Regions from separate parts of the Homo sapiens genome. Here region 1 is linked to region 2. Evidence: promoter capture Hi-C in human tissues and cell types (Jung and others, 2019). All regions are on one chromosome and are shown on one strand. Each heading gives the region's core, a stretch centred on a gene start or on the middle of the fragment in contact. The rest is flanking DNA. Distances are from core to core; before and after follow the strand shown.

The links. Contacts are between HindIII fragments. The study calls those that stand out against the background at their distance.
Region 1: a contact is called between a fragment that was not itself captured here and the fragment with the promoter of RBKS in region 2, in 1 of the 25 tissues and cell types used here (spleen).

What each region holds. Positions count from the first base shown.
Region 1 is chr2:28,473,771-28,477,834 of GRCh38, reverse strand. No RefSeq gene overlaps it. Among named protein-coding and RNA genes, the nearest start is that of PLB1, 20 kb to the left of the region's middle. RefSeq lists an enhancer at 573-622. The HindIII fragment of the contact is 3,963 bases long and covers 1-3,482 here.
Region 2 is chr2:27,888,533-27,892,712 of GRCh38, reverse strand. It overlaps RBKS (ribokinase), which reads left to right and starts at 2,326. Exons shown (of 8, transcript NM_022128.3): 1 at 2,326-2,456. The coding sequence starts at 2,368. BABAM2 (BRISC and BRCA1 A complex member 2) reads right to left here and starts at 1,984. Exons shown (of 12, transcript NM_199191.3): 1 at 1,871-1,984. BABAM2-AS1 (BABAM2 antisense RNA 1) reads left to right here and starts at 1,599. Exons shown (of 1, transcript NR_028308.1): 1 at 1,599-3,257. RefSeq lists a silencer at 1,859-2,138. The HindIII fragment of the contact is 18,364 bases long and covers 1-4,180 here.

The sequences.
Region 1 (4,064 bases), core at 252-2,751, 590 kb before region 2:
CAGCAATTCGAGAGGCTTCAGAGCAACCACAGACTCCTAGGGCAGAACTAACTCTGCAATCTGCCATGTCCAAGGGCACTAATGCCAGATACAGCTGCAAAAGGTCAAGCTAGCCCTTCCTGGCCTCCCTCTGCTTTCTTCCTGTCTCCTCCACCCCTGGAGCAGCCTGGGGAGAAAAGGTGAACAGAGAAGTAAGAGAAGGAGACAGTTCTCTGCCCTTGCAGCTTCCCCAGCCTGAATGGGCTTGGCAGAGACATTTTCAATGGAACAGAGCTTGAGGTTTGACATCACATGGGGCTAGATATTTTATTACATGAGAGTGGTCAGAAAAGGATGGGAGCTGCCTGGGGTTTTTCTGCGGGGCAGAATGGGTCCGAAGAATGGTTTGCTGGAGAGGATAAGGTGCTTTCTGCTTCTGTCATGTGCCCAGCTTGTTTGGGAAGGTGGTCACCTGTGTTTCCTATCTGCCTACATAGATGAATATCCTAGGTTTCAACAGACATGACTGAGCCTCCACCAGGCATTAAGCCTGGGGCCTCTCTCTATCTCTTTTGGTTTCATGCTGCAGCCCAGCTTGTCTGATCTGAAACTTTCCCTTGCCCCATTTTAAGATTTGAGAATGCATGTGTCATGAAAGCTTCTCATCAGAGGCCTGGATCCTCCAGGTACCAGACCCCATGTATCCAGGTGGATCCCACTTAGGAACCCAGGCAGCCCAAGGGCTTCTGAAATAGCAACACCTGATAGCATGTCCGCTGGGGGCTCAGGGACCCTGTCCCAGCCATGCTGGGCACAGCGCAGAGGAGAAGCCTTCTCCTCTCCTTGAGCCTCTCAGTTGCTTCTGCCAGTTAGACCCCACCTGCTAAAAGACCTCAAGGCTCCCTATAATTGTCCAAGTCAGCAGATGTCTTAAAAACGATGTGCCTCAGTCCCAAGTGTGTAGTAGTGATTTACAGAGAACATAGGGCCACTCACCTTGCAATAAATCCTCAAGGTGGACTCTCCTTTCCTGCAGGCCTCTCCCCTCCTCCTTTCTCATATGGGTGGCAAATAAAACAATTCTTTCCCCAATTCAAGGCCCAGTCCTCAATCAGCATTTCTTCCCTTCCCCTGTGGCCATCACCTCCCTGGAGCCTTGTGTTCCAGGCCCTCTCGCCTCCCTCTCACTGACCCCTGGTGCTCCAGGTGCCCAAACCTTACCCGGCACTCAAGGACAATATGCACCTCCCCTGCAAAACTCAGTGACCTGAACCCAGAGGCATCCTCCCTGAGAGGAGCCTGAGGTCAACACATGTTTACTGTGCCACTTCCATATGCCAGGTGTGCCCACTGACCTCAAAGAACTTATATTCTATATGCCAGGCGTGGCCACTGACCTCATGGAACTTGTATTCCATACGCCAGGTATGGCCACTGACCTCATGGCTGGGGCAGGGTCTCTGAAGGGACATGCTATCAGGTGTTGCTATTTCTGTTTGTTTTGTTTTTTTTTTGTTTTTGTTTATTTATTTATTTATTTATTTATTTATTTTTTGAGATAAAGTCTCGCTCTTGTCTCCCAGGCTGGAGTGCAATGGCATGATCTCGGCTCACTGCAACCTCCACCTCCTGGGTTGGAGCAATTCTCCTGCCTCAGTTTCCCAAGTAGCTGGGATTACAGGCGCCTGCCACCACGCCCGGCTACTTTTTTTTTTGTATTTTTAGTAGAGACAGGGTTTCACCATGTTGGCCAGGCTGGTCTCGAACTCCTGACCTCAGGTGATCCACCCGCCTCAGCCTCCCAAAGTGCTGGGATTACAGGCGTGAGTCACCATGCCAGGCCAGGTGTTGTTATTTCAGAAGCCCTGGGCTGCCTGGGCTCCCAGGTGGGATCCGCCTGGATACATGGGGTCTGGTACCTGAAGGATCTGGGCCTCTGATGAGAAGCTTTCATGACACATGCATTCTCAAATCTTAAAATGGGGCAAAGGAAAGTTTCTATATTCTAAGCACTGTAGAGAGGCATTCATCAAAGAATTTCACAAATGAATATAAAATGATAATATGGAAACATACCAGCAGGTGCCTCTCCTAGGCTCTTTGCACAGCTCTGTGATTAGTAGGATCTTGGGGAATTCCAGGAAAGACCAGGTGGCTGTAATGCAGAATGAAGGGAGCTTGAGGCAGGAGAGGTCAGCAGGAGCCCCCTAGGCCTTGGTAACATCTGGGCCTTTATTCTAAGAGGAAGAAGAGGCTGGTAAAGGGTTGTAAGTGGGAAAGTGACAGGACCTGCTTCATGTTTTCAAAAGCTGACAGATAGCTGCATGGAGAAGGGAAGGCTGGGAGATAAGGACAGAGCCAGGAGCCCAGTCAGGAGGCTGTCACTCTCCAAGCCAGAGCTGAAGGAGGCTCATGGTGGTGGAGAAGGAGGAAGGTGGTGGGAGGTGAGGCCAGCTGGACTTCCGGGGTTGAGTGGGGACTTAGGGAACTTCCCTGTCTCACAAGAGGATTGTAAAATGCACCAATCAGCACTCCATAAAATGCACCAATCAGCGCTCTGTAAAACACACCAATCAGCACTTTGCAGCTAAAGCACCAGTTTGGGGCCAATAAGGGAAAGGATTCTAAAAGTAGCCAATCACGGGGAGGATTGAAAAAAGGCACTCTGATAGGACAGAAATGGAACATAGGAGGGGACAATAAGGGAATAAAAGCTGGCCACCCCAGCCAGCAGCAGCAACCCACTTGGGTCCCCTTCCATGCTGTGGAAGCTTTGTTCTTTCACTCTTCACAATAAACCTTGCTACCGCTCACTCTTTGGGTCTGTGCCATCTTTAAGAGCTGTAACACTCACTGCGAAGGTCCCCGGCTTCATTCTTGAAGTCGGCCAGACCACGAACCCACCAGCAGGAACCAATTCCAGACACAGTGGGTAAGGAGATGTTCAGGAAGTGAAACTGATGGATGATGTGTGTAGGTAACGAAAGATCTCTGACCTTTGCACTGGAATGGATGCACTTCATTCCCTGCATAGGGATCACTGGGCATGGGAATTTTGGAAGAATGCAGAGGGAAATCATCAATGCAGATGTGGACACAAGCAGCATGCAGTGCCTTTAGGACACACACTCAAGAGATGCCGGAGGGGCAGGTAGACCCATGGATCAGAAACTCAGATGAGAACTCTGGGCCAGAGTGGCTAAGAGTCAGATGCAGTCACTCAAGCTGTGGCAGCAGAGCCTGCTAGGAGAGAGAACAAGGGGGAAGGGAAGGGCCTGGGGAACTCTTAATGATATTTAATAGCTGGGCAGATAAGAAAAAATCCTACAGTGCAGACAGAGGAAAAACTGATTGGAGAAGTAAAAGGTTTGTGTCAGGGAGAGAAGTATGTTTTTAAAATAGAGAATACTGCTGAAAAGTCAAGGATATGAGGCCTGGAAAATTGGGTTTTCTCAATAAATAAAAATAAAATAAAAATTGCTGACCTTAGTGGGATCCCTAGAGCCTCAGCTCAGTGTCCCTGGGCACCTATTTCCAATCTGGAATTTTTTTTTTTAAGAGACAGAGTCTCACTCTGTCATCCAGGCTGGAGTGCAGTGGCACCATCAACGCACTGCAGCCTTGAGCCTGGGCTCAAGTGATTCTCCCGCCTCAGCCTCCAGCGTAACTGGTACTACAGGCACACACCATCATGCCTGGCTAATTAAAAAAAATTTTTTTTTTTTAGAGATGGGCTCTTGCTATGTTTTGCTCAAGCTGGTCTTGAACTCCTGGTCTCATGTGACCCTCCCACCTTGGCCTCCCAAAGTGCTGGGATTATAGGCATGAGCCAATGTGCCCAGCCACCACTCTGGTGTGTCTGGAATTGGTGGGTTCTTGGTCTCACTGACTTCAGGAATGAAGCCGCGGACCCTCGCGGTGAGTGTTACAGTTCTTAAAGGCGGCGTGTCCGGAGTTTGTTCCTTCTGATGTTCGGATGTGTTCGGAGTTTCTTCCTTCTGGTGGGTTCATGGTCTCGCTGACTCAGGAGTGAAGCTGCAGACCTTTGCGGTGAGTGTTACAGCTCTTAAGGCAGCATGTCTGGA
Region 2 (4,180 bases), core at 1,077-3,576:
CGTCCATATATATTACTGCAGTTGATCTTCACAAGCCTGAGGTAGTAAGGAATTTTAATTCCCAGTTTGCAGATAATATGGGTAATTATTATAATTTGATTCTGAACAGTATACTAATCCACATCATAATTTTGAAGCCTATTTTTTTCTATTCGCCAACATTTCCACCTTCATGTCTATGTCACAATTCTTGAAGGGATGCTTATCAAAGTCATATGCTAAGTACAAATATACCTATCTTATAAAAAAGCAAAAGGGTCTCACCTATATTACCGAATTGTTCTTCTGTGTTTTTCCCCACAGTACCCATTATTACTTTATCTCTTGCTTCTACAAAAGAAGGAAACAGAACCAACACATTCTAGACACCTATCTACCCATTATCAGGCATTATATTACTCATCTCTATCTGTAATTTCATTTACATTTCCCCAACTCTGTTCCCTGAGAACAATAATTGTTCCCATTTGACAAGTGGAAGCTAAAGAAACTTGACAAATAGAAAATTAAAGCTCAGCAAAATAAAATAACTTGTTGAATGTTGGAAGCTGGAGGATCAGAATCCAAATCCGGATTCTCCAAGTCCACTATACCCATCTTTCTCTCAAATAAACATTGATAACTTCTATCACCAAAGAGAAAAGCATCAAGGTGATTTTGTAAAGCGTATATCTTATAAAATGTGAACAGACAAAAAGTAAAAATTTAAACAAATGATTGCTTTACCACTAAAAACAAACTGGACTATTGCTGACCTACTGCTGAACCTGGTCTGAGTGATTCACTAGTCAAATGTTAAAGGGAACAGCCTTGCTCTAGAAGCCAAACCATACTAAGTGACAACAATACATTCTAATTCAGCAACGGTCGTGACTTTAGGATGACACCTGAGGGAATGAATTCTATTTCCAGGGCAGCCATAATACTATGTTTTAACAGTGCAAGGTTTCACGCAGTATTAAAATCTATTTCAACCATGAGGAGGTGTGACTTCTCTAAAAAAAAAGGGCGGGGGGTGGGGAGTGGAACACAATGACTCCAAAATCAGAAGTCACTTAGCCAAAAACACTGGTCCTTTGGTGCAGTGAACCGGGTACATGGACAGGGAGTCACCACCGGTAGTAACTCTTACGCATGGCAGCACTATAATACACCCCAGATATACAAATATTTACGGTGGTCAGAGTCCCCTGAATACTACTACTGCAATTTGTATTTCCTGATTTTGACGTATTGCAAAAGGAAAATGCAAAATTACAATTTTTGCAAGGGTCTGCTACCCCAAAATAAAGTTACAAAAGGTCCTTTGATGAGAGGCCTGGGGATTACAAAGACGTCTAAAGCACCATCCAGGTTCTTGCAATTAAAATGAGATGACAAACACGGAAACATGTGCCCTGCTGACGTCATGGAACGGAAAGGGGTGGCATCCTGCTGCGTCACGTCGACGTCATACAGCGCACGAGGGAAGTTACACTGGGGAAGCAATTTCCCCCAAGGGGCAACATTCGAGAAAAACAAGTTAGCTCAGACCCGAAGAATGACCACCCCACTCTAGGGGACGTCTTAAAAAGGGACACTCTCCCCTCTTCCAAACTGTATGATTCCCCTCATCAGGCAACAAGGAACTAATACTCGGGGTTTACAGGAACCAGGGGATGGGCCAGATATGGAGAAAGAGACGCCTCTGGCCTTGGGGGCTCGTTCTTGAGGGAATCAGCGTGATGGGGATGAGAAGGGCATCTTTGGAACGGGGGCCTTCTCCATAGGAAGAGGAGGCGAGTCCCCTGGCCATATTTAAACCACAGTTCTCCACGCCACCTGTGCGACTCGGGATCCAACCTCCCCGCACCAGCCCCAGTCCAGGTACCTGGAACTTAGTCCGATCGGTAACCGGCGACTACGTGGGGTACAGGTACCCGAGCGCGCCCCCGACAGACGCACCGACCTGCGCGCGCGCCGCGGGCAGGATGCGTGCGCACTCCCCGGACGTCCCGCCCCGCCCCCTCTGCGGCCCCGAAGCTGGGCGGCGTGCGCGCCCCCGCGCCGCGCCGAGCCGGGCGCTCGGAAAGGCGTCCCCGCGGTGCCTGACAGTTCCTTCCTCAGCGCCTGCCCCGTGAGTGACGAGGAGCGCGGAGTCTCGCCATATCAGGAGGGCCCTGTTACGTGAGGCTGTGCACCGAGACTATTCCAGGAAGAAGAGGGGACACTTGGTGGGCGGGGTGATTTCGGGCAGTCAGGTGGGCGACCCGCGTAGGCGTCTGAAAGGCCCGCGTCGTTAGGGAGGGCAGGAGTGGCGTCTCTGGTTACGGGGTCGGGCAAAGGGCAGAGGTCACCGTCCAGGTTGGACAGCAGCACCTTTGAGCGATGGCGGCGTCTGGGGAACCCCAGAGGCAGTGGCAAGAGGAGGTGGCGGCGGTGGTAGTGGTGGGCTCCTGCATGACCGACCTGGTCAGGTTAGTCCGGGGCCAGTTACTCAGTCTGCGGCTCGGGGGAGGAGGCGTGCCGTGCGCTATGCGCCCAGTGGAGCTTTTGGGCGCTGGGTCTCCAGGGATAGACAGTGCTAGCTTTGGGTATGAGCTGCAGGTTTTCGAAGCCTTCAGCCTACCTTCCTGGCATGAAAGAACTTGAGTATATAAAGGTAAATCTCAGGGGAGGGGACGTAATAGGCCAGGGTTTAGTGAAAGCTCTAATATTACTCAAAGCGCTCCCCAAAGACCTGCCCTCCAAAGACTTGCGCCCCCAAAGACCTTTCTTGGCCCGGCTGCTGAGCCTTTCCCCAAACGAGCCAGGGAACTTTGCCCACGTCATTTTACCTCCGAGAATGTGCCTACCTCACAGGGTTGTTGTGAGGACTAAATGAAGTAAAGTGTTTTGTCAAGCGTAACATTATCCAAATTGGGTATTATTCGTCTGAGCTTATTGTATAAAATAATGAGTTGAGCAGAAATCAAAAAGACTGTCACCTTTCACCATGTTGATTGTCGGCATTACTGCAGTATTTTATATTTACAGCGTATTTTTCAGCAAGCCAAGTATGAATCAAAATAAAAACATAAACACAGTATTTACAACCTCTGAAAACGATGATCAAATTATGATAGAAAATATGCCAAATGAAAATTGTTGAGTTAGGTCAGTAAGATTGAGTAGACAGATCCTTCTGATTTTTCTTTTTTTTAAATTAAGGTAGCTTTTCTGATTACAAAAGTAATGTATGTTCACTGTAAAATTAGTAATAAATTCAGATATTCCAAGAAAATCCTACCACTCCAATTACTGCAGTTCAGTCTTTTGATGAATATCTTTTCAGTTGTAATGCTACTTTGTGTTATAAAAATGATCAGGTATGCTACAGTAACACCTCATTCGTCCTGAAATGTTGCTTTTCCAAAGGGTAATAGAGAACGTGGAACTAAACAAAAAGGCTTTGGGACAATCAAAATAAGTCACCAAATTGCTGCACCAAACCACCTGTATTCTACTCAGAAAATAGGTCTAGGGTCTTCATGTAACCAATTTAACCTTACCTTAAAATATTTATAAGCTGTGTTACCAAATTTCCACTGAGATTAGAAAGGTGGGAGTTAGAGAAGAGACTGCTAGAGGCAGTTATAGTGACTGACGAAAACTTGAGGATGAGTAGGAGACTGTGTAACGAGAAGAAGCAACAAAAGAATTTTAAATACCAATGACCTTTATTTTTCCACAAATATTAGAACTATTCTGTCAGACACTGTGCCAAGATAAAAATACTTTCCTTTGGTGACAGAGCATAAAATTGAATCTAGTTGGAGACATTTGTTGAAGAGGCCTGTACATCTTTTTCTAGAGCAAGAGTAAGTAAACTTTTCTGTAAAGGGCCAGATAGTAAATATTTTAGGCTTTGCAAGCCGTATGTGGTCAAGGTCACATTTTTTTTTAACAACATTTTTTAAATGTAAAAACCATTCTTACCTCCCAAGCCTTACAAGAACATCCTGCAGGCCATAGTTTGCAGACATCTGTGTAGAAAGAACATTACTGTGTTTACAACACAATATAGCAATTGATTTTACTGGTGATGACTCTTTTCAAGAAAAGGTTATATGGTACTTACTAAATTTTGTATAAAAATAGAGCATGTATTTCACTTTAGAAAAAGTTTCATCAAAAATTCATAAAGTTGAGTTACATAAAG